2 separate regions of the Homo sapiens genome follow, and region 2 is linked to region 1. The links are contacts of gene promoters, found by promoter capture Hi-C in human tissues and cell types (Jung and others, 2019). All regions are on one chromosome and are shown on one strand. Each heading gives the region's core, a stretch centred on a gene start or on the middle of the fragment in contact. The rest is flanking DNA. Distances are from core to core; before and after follow the strand shown. Region 1 holds the start of EIF5 (eukaryotic translation initiation factor 5). Region 2 overlaps MOK (MOK protein kinase).

Region 1 (5,681 bases), core at 1,075-3,574:
CACCCAGGCTGGAGTGCAACGGCGTGGTCTCAGCTCACTGCAACCTCCGTTTCCGGGGTTCAAGCGATTCTCCCCCTTCAGCCTCCCAAGTAGCTGGGACTACAAGCGCATGCCACCACGCCTGGCTAATTTTTGTATTAGTAGTAGACTCAGGATTTCACTATGTTGGCTAGGCTGGTCTAGAACTCCTGACCTCGCGATCCGCTTGCCTCAGCCTTCCAAAGTGCTGGGGGTTACAGGTGTGAGCCAACGCGCCCAGCCATCCACTCTTTAAATGCGTTCCCCTGGTAGTTTTGTAAACTCATGGCAACCAATAAACCACGGTTCCTCACTTAACTTGTAAGGTAATTAGCTAGCATACAATTAGAACAAGTTTTGCAGCTCAAAGACTTTGAAGACTCTATCCATAATATGCCCTGTGGACTTTTCCAAGCTTTACTTACACGTTGGAGGCCGATTAAGCGCCTTTGCAACGTCAACCATGTTGACTATAACTGTCTTGATTCCATTGCCTTTGCCCTCAACCTAAAGGAAATAAGAATTTTAGTTGTGCAGTTTCCCCTGACAAATGCAAACTTCAAAATTCTACAAAAAGAGCTATCAACTAAATTGAAGAGCAGTTTATTACCTTGGCAATCAGACGGGGCATCTTGTAGCGATAGAACTGGTCTGACACGCTGCGGTTGACATTGACAGACATTTTGGCTTATTAGTGGCTTTATCAATAAGATGAAGAGATCTTTGATTGCAACTTTTTGGTATCTTCTGTCTGGAGAAGAAGGGATGACATAAACGACTGCAAGAGTTCTCGGTCTCTGACATGAAAAAATTTTCGCCACTGAGGCTGTAAGCTTCTTGCTTGTATGCTATGTTTCCCCAATACAGGTACCAATGGCTGCGCAACAGCTCTGAAAGAAAAAGGGAAAGAACACACAAAAATCCCCCCAGGTTTAACATCATCGCTGGATGGAAACGCCTCCTTTTTACATCCTAGTTATGCTTCTGCTTAACTCCACCTTAAAAAGCATCTGAGATCACATGCAAACAGCCATTCTCATGTAACACAGTACAATCTGCGGGAACATAAAAAGGCCTCCATTTCGACTAAGCTGTGACTGGTAGGGAAATGCCTGACAAGAAAACACAAGCTGTGCTGCCTCAGCCGCCGTGAGATTCCATCAGACCGAGGGCAATCAGCAGGTTTGCCTCTGCGGCCATCCTGGAAGTGCTGAAGAACGAACCCGAGCCCTCTCCGCCGCCCACCCCGCCTGGATAAGCAAACTTCTCAGGCACACCCCCGTTCGTCTTCATTTTTAAGGGCAACCTAGGGAACTGTTCTCTACAACTAATCGTTGCTTCGGCAACCATGGCTTACTTCAAAGCAGCACTTCCTTAAACGCAGCGCTCGCCCACAATTTGCCATTAAGCAAGAGAGCGCGAGCGAACGCCAGGCTCGCCCCGGCCTCCCTTTTCCTCGCTATTCAAATACTCGGTTAACCTTCGCCCTGGTCCCCATGGCTACCGCGCTCCGAGGCGTTTCCGCGGGGGCTGGCGAACCGGGCAGCTCCGCGAAGGAGGGGGGCGCGCGACCGGGGCGTCTGGCCCCATCCCCAGCGCGTCCCCCGAGAGCCGGCGGCCCCGGAGGGTGCACAGCCGGGAAGCGACACACGGCCGAGGGGTGCCGGGATCGGGCCGCCCCCGCCCCAGAGCGCGCGATGACTCACAAATGCAGCAGCTGAAGCCTGAGTCAGCCCGAGCGGCGGGCACGCGCGACGCGCTCCCGCCATGCCGGGGAGGGGGCGAGGCCGGGCCGGGGAGCGCGCGGGGAGGGGGCGGCCGGCGCCCGGGCCCGCGCCCGCCCGCCGTCCGCCCAAACTGCGCCACACGCCGCGGCGGGGTCACGCGGCGGCCGCCGCCATCTTGTGCGGCCGCCATCTCCTGGCCCGCCGCGCCCGCGACTCACCGTTTTCGTCAAATAAAGACATAAACCCAACGCTGCTCGCCCGGGACTGGGATGAAGTGAGGCGCGATATAAACCCGAGTCCGAGTCCGAGGAGGCGGAGGCGAAGCGCAGCGAGGAGCGGCCGGGCCAGGTGCCGCCGCCGAGCAGCGGGGAGGGGCTGTCCCAGCGACGTCCGCGGTCCACACCCGTCAGCGCCGGAGCTGGGCGACCTGGCGCGGAGAGACGGCGCCGTGAGCCGTGGGCGGTCGGGGAGTGCACCTTCCCCGCCAGCCAGCGGCCCGAGGGGTCGAGGGGGCGGGAAGCACCGGGCAGGGGGCCGCCCCTTCACCGGACTCACCTCTGGAATGTTCTCGCTCTGACTGAACAACGCCGCCGCCGCGCTCAAGCTACCCTCGGCCCCAGCGTCCGCCCCCCGCGTCAGGCCTCACTGCCCATTGGCTGGAGGCCTGCCACAGCTCGCTCGTCATTGGTTCGCTTGCGACGTCAATCGCATCTTTCCGCGCCCCTTCTGCTTCCTGAGGCTCAACTCGCGGCCTCGGCCCGCCTCCAGCCCCGGTCTCGCTTCCTTCCTCTCCCCTCCCCCCGCCTTTCCCAGAGGTCTTCGCGGCGCAGCCCTTGGGTCTCGCGAGACCCGGAGTGGCCCTGGTGGCGGGGCCGGGGTACCGGGGGCCGTTCTTTGTCGGTTTGGGCCTTGAGGGGGAGATGGTGGTTGGTCCCCTCCCTCGCCGGGTCTGGGACAGGCCGCGGCGTCATGGCGACTCCCGGGACGCAGGAGCCATCGTCCTCGAAACTGCTTTCGAGGCCGTGTTTTTGCGGCTGCCACCTTCGGGGAGAGGAACCCGACCGCGTTCTCCCCGCAGCGGGCGCTCATCTCCCTTTCCCGTTCTCCCGGGACGCCCGACTCCGGGCCTCGAGGAATGAGTTGTTTTTCCACCTTAAGCCCCAGGCCTGGGTCTTTCATCCCAGGGACGTCTTCTGTTTCGGACTCGGGGTGGATTGGCCGCTGGCGGAACGAGTCCGTGACTCGCCAGTGACCGCCCAGGGCGGTCGCGAGGCCGCGCCGCCTCGGTGTCGGCCCGCAACCCAGCCTGCGCGCTTAGCTCAGCGCGTCGCCTCCCGTTTTCGGAAGAGGAGGCCCTTAATTGGTTTGGAATCCTGGGGCCTCCTGAAGGCGCTTCGTGGTGGGTTCCCACCTTCTGGTGAAGGCCTCCCTGCTCTCCCAGGGTTGAAAAGCGCTATCCTTCGTGCTTCTCTTGTCACCTTTCTCCTAGTGGGCATCACGTCGAGTCCACCCCCTCTAGTTTATGACTTGTGAATTCTTTGATAAGCAAATCGTAGCCCAGAGCAGGCATTTATAATGAGATTCCAATGTATTCCGTTGAAAATTACTATTATTTAGGCCGGTCGCGGTGGCTCACGTCTGTAATCCCAGCACTTTGGGAGGCTGAGGTGGGCGGATCACCTGAGGTCGGGAATTTGAGACCAGCCTGGCCAATATGGTGGAACCCTGTCTCTACTAAAAATACAAAAAATTAGCTGGGCGTGGTGGCTCGCTTGTAATCCCAGCTACTCGGGAGGCTGAGGCAGGAGAATCCTTGAACCCGGGAGGCACAGGTTACAGTGAGCCGAGATCACACCACTGCACTCCAGCCTGGACAACAGAGCGAGACTGTCTCCAAAAAAAAAAAAAAAGAAAATTTTTATTATTTAGAGAGAGGCTCTCATATTTTAGTTCTGTTGAAACTCTCCCATTCTTTCTGAAACTTGGATTTTTTTTGTGAAAACTTGAGTCTTAAAAACACATCCATAGTTCACCCTGAAGTTTGAAGACCTCACTTGACTGATGGAGCGAGAGCCCCGCTAACCTGCACTCTGGTCTCTAAGGTGCAGTCATCGAGAAGTCCTGAGCGGCCGTGCAGGTTTCCCGATCTGGAAAAGAGAAATGTTGCTGAGGACAGGATGAGGTAGATAAGGGGCTGCCCTTTGTTTTGGACCAGTTGCATTTGCACTGAGGTTAGAATTGGCAGCTATGTTGATTTTTATATCAAAATCCAAGATCGTGCTTCCATAACTAAAAGCTTTATAAACAACTTAAAAATTGGCAGTGTTGGTAGGAAGAAATAAAGGCACAATCCAGAATTGAGAGGTGATTTGTGTCCTTTAGGGCAGGGACTTTTATAATCCCGCAGTGTGTACCTTGGTGTATAGTTGTTAAGCCAAGTGCACAGTGCCTTGTGAGTACCAGGGTTCCCATCAGACAAACTAGAAAAGGGGATCCCAGACATGCTGCTGCTGTTTCACTGTGGAGCATGACTTAGCAGTATTGAAACAGATCTGACTTTTTGCTTGGCAGCACAAAAATGATGTTATTTTAGAAACTCTGTTGGAAAGTATAGGCATGAAACTAGTCTGAGGTGAGAGGCCTGCCTTTTCAGAAAAGTTTTAATGAAACACGAAGTAATTAGCTTTTTTGTATGTTTAGTGGCACAATTTTTAATTTCGTTGAAGTTTGTAATAATTTTAACTGCTTTTTAATATGTGTACCACTCATTTGTATGCAACCATGGACAACTTAAAAAAATACTTTTGTGTTCTTTTTCTCCCTTTTATTTTTAGTTAATACATAATAACACATTTGTGGGATACAAAGTGATATTTCAGTACATGTATACAACGTGTAATGATCAAAGCACAGTAATCAGCATATCCATCACCTCAGATGTTTATCATTTCTTTGTGTTGGGAACATTCAGAATTCTCTCTTCTAGCTTTTTGAAAATATACAATAGATTGTTGTTAAGTATATTTACCTTGAAATACTACAGAGCACTAGAACTTATTGAGCTGCAATTTTGTATCAACCTCTCCCTCTCCTCTCCTCCCACTAGCCTTCCCAGCTTCTAATAAACCACAATTCAAGTCTCTACTTCCATGAACTCGAATTTTTTTTTAGCTCCCACATATGAATGAGAATATGTGGTATTTATCTTTCTGTGCCTGACTTATTTCACTTAATATGATACTGTCCTCCAGTCTCAGCCATGTTGCTTCAGATAAAAGGATTTCATTATTTTTTTATGACTGAATAGTGTTCCAGTATATGTAAAACTTTTTTTTTTTGAGACGGAGTCTCACTGTATCACCCAGGCTGGAGTGCAAGTGGTCTGATCTCAGTTCACTGCAACCTCCGGCTCCCAGGTTCAGGCGATTCTCCTGCCTCAGCCTCCCAAGTGGCTGGGACAACAGGTGCGTGCCATCAAGCCCGGCTAATTTTTTTTTTTTTTTTTTAGTAGAGACAGGGTTTCACTGTATTGGACAGGCTGGTCTGTCTTGAACTCCTGTGTGATCCACCTGCCTTGGCCTCCCAAAGTCCTGGGAGTACAGGCGTGAGCCACCACGCCCAGCCTATAACACATTTTCTTTATCCTTTTTTTTTTTTTTTAAATAATAAGATGGCGCGGGAGGGGTGGGGGGGGGGCTCACTATGTTGCCTAGGCTGGTCTCGAACTCCTGGCCTCAAGCAGTCCTCCCACCTCGGCATCCTGAAGTGCTGGGATTACAGGCATGAGCCACTGCAACCAGCCTGTCCATTCATTTGTTGGTGGACGCTTAAGTTGATTCCATATCTTTTGCTATTGTGACTGGCGCTGCAATAAACATGGGGGTGCAGATATCTCTTTGATAATATTGATTTGATTTCCTTTGGATAAATACCTAG
Region 2 (5,291 bases), core at 2,359-4,858, 1.0 Mb after region 1:
TAGCTGGGATTACAGGCATGCACCACCACACCTGGCTAATTTTGTATTTTTAGTAGAGACAGGGTTTCTCCATGTTGGTCATGCTGGTCTCGAACTCCTGACCTCAGGTGATCCGCCTGCCTCAGCCTCCCAAAGTGCTGGGATTACAGGCGTGAGCCACCGCACCCAGCTGTATTCAGTCTTTCTCTGTGCATGTGTTGTGTGTATGATCATTATCATCCTTTTTTTCACTTAACATGAAATTATGGCTGAACATTTTCCCATGTCATGAAATATTATTTGAAAGCATCGTTATCAATGGTTACATAATATTTCAGTCTGTGGCTATTTCATAGTTTGTTAGAACATTTCCTTGATACTGGATATTTAAGTTTCTGGCATTCTTACTTTTGTGACACTGTGAATACCATCTTTGTTTATGAAGTTTTTTGTTTGTTCATTTGTTTTTTGTTTTTGAGATGGAATCTAGCTCTGTCACCCAGGCTGGAGTGCAGTGGCACAATCTCCGCTCACTGCAACCTCCGCCTCCCAGGTTCAAGCGATTCTTATGCCTCAGCCTTGCTAGCAGCTGGGATTGCAGGTGTGCGCCACCCTCCTGGCGAATTTTTGTATTTTTAGTAGAGATGGGGTTTCATTATGTTGGCCAGGCTGGTTTGGAACCCTTGACCTCAGGTGATCTGCCCACCTCAGCCTCACAAAGTGCTGGGATTACAGGCATGAGCTACCACACCCAGCCTCAATGTGGCTGTTAATGTACAGATTCACTCATATACAAATTGAATGGTTTTAATACTAAAATAATATTTAATTCCCCAAGCTTTTTTTTTTTCCTGTTGGTTTTTGTTTCTCTAAGTGTAATGGCACAAGAGAGAACAGATTGTGGACTTTCTATTTAAGAGGTTTATGGCTTTATGAGGAGAAGGTGCATAGTGGAGCATGAGCAGTTCTGTAACAGGAGGACAAGGTGCACACAGAAGGAAGAAAGACATCTGCTTGAAAGCTTCCCAGGCCGGTCCTGGAAGATTGGAATCCAGAGCACCATGTATTTGGTATTACACACTATGTACTCCATAATTAGTTGTTTTTTTGTTTTGTTTTGTTTTGTTTTGTTTTTTGAGATGGAGTCTTGCTCTGTTGCCCAGGCTAGAGTGCAGTGGTGCTATCTCGGCTCACTGCAAGCTCCACCTCCTGGGTTCACGCCATTCTCCTGCCTCAGCCTCCTGAGTAGCTGGGACTACAGCTGTCTGCCACCATGCCCGGCTAATTTTTCACATTTTTAGTAGAGATGGGGTTTCACCGTGTTAGCCAGGATGGTCTCGATCTCCTGACCTTGTGATCCACCCGCCTCAGCCTCCCAAAGTGCTAGGATTACAGGCATGAGCCACCGCACCCGGCCTATGTACTCCATAATTTGACCATTGATATTTTCTAAACAAAAATGTTCCATTTCCTCCCTCCCTCTTTTATAAGGAAAGGACCTAAAATTAGGGGTATAGGGACATACTGTAAATTCTCAAGACTAGGGATTACGTCTTAATGATATTTGTGTCTACAGTGCATGGCACAGTGTGTGGTATATAGCTGGTGCTAAGAAGTCTTTATTATTATTATTGTTAGTTTTTTTTTTTTTGAGACAGAGTTTTGCTCTGTTGCCCAGGCTTCAGTACAGTGGCGTGATCTCGGCTCACTGCAACCTCCGCCTCCCAGGTTCAGACAGTTCTTCTGTCTCAGCCTCCCAAGTAGCTGGGATTACAGGCACAGGCCACCATGCCTGGAAAATTTTTTGTATTTTTAGTAGAGATGGGGTTTCACCATGTTGGCCAGGCTGGTCTCAAACTCCCGATCTGAGGTGATCTGCCCACCTTGGCCTCCCAAAGTGCTGGGATTACAGGTGTGAGCCACCGCACTTGGCTGCAAGCAGACCTTTCTAAGGAGAGAAGTCCCAGGCCTGCTGTGTGAGCTCTTCTGCACAATGAAGACACTGATCTTCTTGTAGAGAAATTTCTGGGCTTTCCAGTTTAATTCATTTAAGAGAAGGGGTAAATTTTGGTGGTGTTTTAGCAAGCAACAGCTATCCCTTGACTAGTATGAACAGGGCCTGGTAGGTCAGTATGAGGGTCTGCTTGAGGGCAGAAGATGTTTAGGCTGTTGAATTTTCCCACAAAGTTTCAAGTTTGGAGGCTCCTCAAGAAACTTGTCAAAATTACTTAATGAGGTTTTAAACTGTACAAATTAGTGGTCAGGGCCAGGGCCTGTATTTTGGTCCATTTCTTTTGCAGAAGCTTCTTGGAGATGCACCAAAGAATCTTTATTGCCTGGTTTTAGGATTTAATGGAATTTAATTAGGTTTCCAGTTGTAGAGAGGCTCTGGGACTTAGTTAAGCTATAGTTGTCAAGCAAGTTATGGCTTCCGGTTTTTTGTCAGAAGGGATATGGTACCGTGCTCTGTCCTGAAGCCTCAGCGGGGCTCACTCCTGCCTTACATTAGCCAGTTTCTCCCAGAAGGCAAGTGAGAACAATAAAGCTAGCAGAATAGTTCTGAAACCCTGCCTTGCTGGGAGCTAGATTAGTTCCTCTTTTATTCAGGGAAAACTTGGATAAAAGGGATTCTAATAGCATAGTTTGAAGATCTTCGGTTTGGGGATCTAGAGCGGTGCTGGGGGATGTTAACTGGTGTTCTCTGGTTGTATCTCACACCCCTCTCATATACCCCACCTCCATTTGGAGACTCATCTCATATGCAGGGAAAGGCATTGAGGAATTCTGCAAACACATTTTGCCGTATTTAACTCTGTATTTCCTAAATTTATTTGCTTATGGAACCCTCTTTTGTGGAATACCCATTAGGGTTCAGGGATCCTCGTGTTTTGTAGTACTCAGTTTGGAAAATGCTAGTCTGGAGATTCAGCATCCTCAGGTTGTTTTTCCTGGAAGTGGTAATGGAGAGCAGCCCTTCCTGGTGCAGTAGGCCACCTTTCTTTTGCTCATAACACAGACCAGTTGTGACACTTGGCTCTGTCTCAGGCTGTGACTTTTAATATACCGATTTACTTATACACAAATTGAATGGTTAATGTTCCATTCCCCAAGCCTTTTTTGTTCATTTTTACTATTTTTTTTGTTTGTTTGTTTCTCTCTTTTTTTTTTGAGACTGAGTTTTGCTCTTGTTGCCCAGGCTGGAGTGCAGTGGCGTGATCTCGGCTCACCGCAACCTCCTCCTCTTGGGTTCAAGCGATTCGCCTGCCTCAGCCTTCCTGAGTAGCTGGGATTAGAGGCATGCACCACCACACCCGGCTAATTTTGTATTTTTAGTAGAGATGGGGTTTTTCCATGTTGGTCAGGCTGGTCTTGAACTCCCGACCTCAGATGATCTGCCCACCTCGGCCTTCCAAAGTGCTGGGATTATAGGCGTGAGCCACCATACCTAGTCTTTTTTTTTTTTTTCTCTAAGTGTAATGCATTTTATCTCCTGCTTCTTGTAAGTTTCCAGGACCAAGTAATACTCAAACCCTTCCCAGAGGGTTTTCATTTCGAACAAGGAAGCCACCTGGGAAATAGGGTGGAGACCTGTTTTGAGAAACCAGAAGAGGATGTCTCGTTCTAACCATGGAGAAAAAGAATCTAGTCTCCTTGTTAGGAAGACTGTTGAAGAAGTGTTCTTTATCCTTTAGTTCTTATTAAGAGAATTGTTTTAGTTTCAATTGTAAGGACCAGTAAATCTCCTTACACCTCACAGTATGGAGACATATTATTATAACTGTTGACAAAGAAGGAGCTTGAGGGCTGGGTGCAGTGGCTCACGCCTATAATCCCAGCACTTTGGGAGGGTGAGGCGGGTGGGAAGCTGAGGCGGGTGGATTACCTGAGGTTAGGAGTTCGAGACCAGCCTGGCCAACATGGTGAAACCCCATCTCTACTAAAAATACAAAAATTAGCTTGGTATGGTGGCACACACCTGTAATCCCAGCTACTTGGGAGGCTGAGGCACGAGAATCTCTTGAACTTGGAAGATGGAGGTTGTAGTGAGCCGAGATCACTTGGGCAACACAGTGAGACTCTGTCTCAAAATAAAATAAAATAAAATAAAAATAAAAAACAGGAGCTTAAAAATAGGAAAACCCGAGAGCAGGAGGGAATTGGCCCTCTTAGGAACTAGAATAGTATTGAAAGCAGATTGTTTTGCACCTTAGCAGTAGGGATTTGTAGACGTGCATATTCTGCCATTAATGAGATTTCTCAGTCTGTGTTTCTTTGTGATTTTCCCTGTATATACTTTTACTGTGTATCATTTCTGTTCCTTATACTCTCTGCTTATTCCTAACTCTGTTTTTTTTTTCTGATTTTATTTTGGAGTATAACATAATACAGAAAACTGCACAAATTGGCCAAGCGCAGTGGCTCGTGCCTGTAATCCCAGCACTTTGGGAGGCCAAGACGGGCGGATCACTTGTGCTGAGGAGTTTGAGACCAGCCTGGGCAACATGGTGAAATCCTGTCTCTACAAAAAATACAAAACAATTAGCTGGGCATGGTGGCGGGTGCCTGTAGTCCCAGCTACTCAGAAGGCTGAGGTGGGATGATCGCTTGAGCCTAGGAGGTGGAGGTTGCAGTGAGCCGAGGTTGCACCACTGCTCTCCAGCCTGGGCAACGGAGTGAGACCCTGTCTCAAAACAAAACAAAACAAAACAAAGCTGCACTTACATTTAAGTATACAAGTTGGTGAAGTGAACATGCCAATGAAACCTGCTTCCAGATCAAGAAGCAGAGTGTTACTGGTATCATGGGTGTCCCCTTCAGCCCATTCTGGTCACTTCACCCCACAAGGGTAACCACTTTCTGATTTCCAACACCACAGAGTTGTCTGTTTTAATGGAGTTATTGAAATATACATACTATAACGTTCACTCATTTAAAGTATACTGCTCAGTGATTTTAAGTATATTTTCTGAGTTGTGTAACTATAACTATAATCTAATGTTAAAATATTTTCATCATCCCCAAAAGAAACCTGTACCCCAAAAGAAATAAGGAGTGGTTACTCCTTTATCCCACATTCCACCAGCCCTAGGCAATTACAAATCTATTTCCTGCCTCTATAGATTTGCTTATTCTGGACATTTCATATAAGTGGGATCACATAATATGTGGCATTTTGTGCCTGATTTCTTTCACTTAGCATAATGTCCTCAAGGCTCATCCATGCTGTAGCATGTATCAGTACTTCATTCCTTTTCATGGCTGAGTAATATTCCATTGTATGGATAGACCACATTTTGTTTATCCGTTCATCT

Evidence for each region. Contacts are between HindIII fragments. The study calls those that stand out against the background at their distance.
Region 2: a fragment that was not itself captured here is called in contact with the fragment with the promoter of EIF5 in region 1 in 1 of the 25 tissues and cell types used here (adrenal gland).

Annotation. Positions count from the first base shown.
Region 1 is chr14:103,330,880-103,336,560 of GRCh38, reverse strand. EIF5 (eukaryotic translation initiation factor 5) reads right to left here and starts at 2,324. Exons shown (of 12, transcript NM_001969.5): 1 at 2,301-2,324; 2 at 1,964-2,172; 3 at 629-908; 4 at 444-525. The coding sequence starts at 700. EIF5-DT (EIF5 divergent transcript) reads left to right here and starts at 1,901. Exons shown (of 1, transcript NR_158216.2): 1 at 1,901-4,889. RefSeq lists silencers at 1,469-1,708, 1,819-1,868, 2,009-2,428 and an enhancer at 2,749-2,868. The HindIII fragment of the contact is 9,721 bases long and covers 1-5,681 here.
Region 2 is chr14:102,288,297-102,293,587 of GRCh38, reverse strand. The region is part of intron 1 of MOK (MOK protein kinase); the gene reads left to right. Among named protein-coding and RNA genes, the nearest start is that of MOK, 14 kb to the left of the region's middle. The HindIII fragment of the contact is 3,933 bases long and covers 1,642-5,291 here.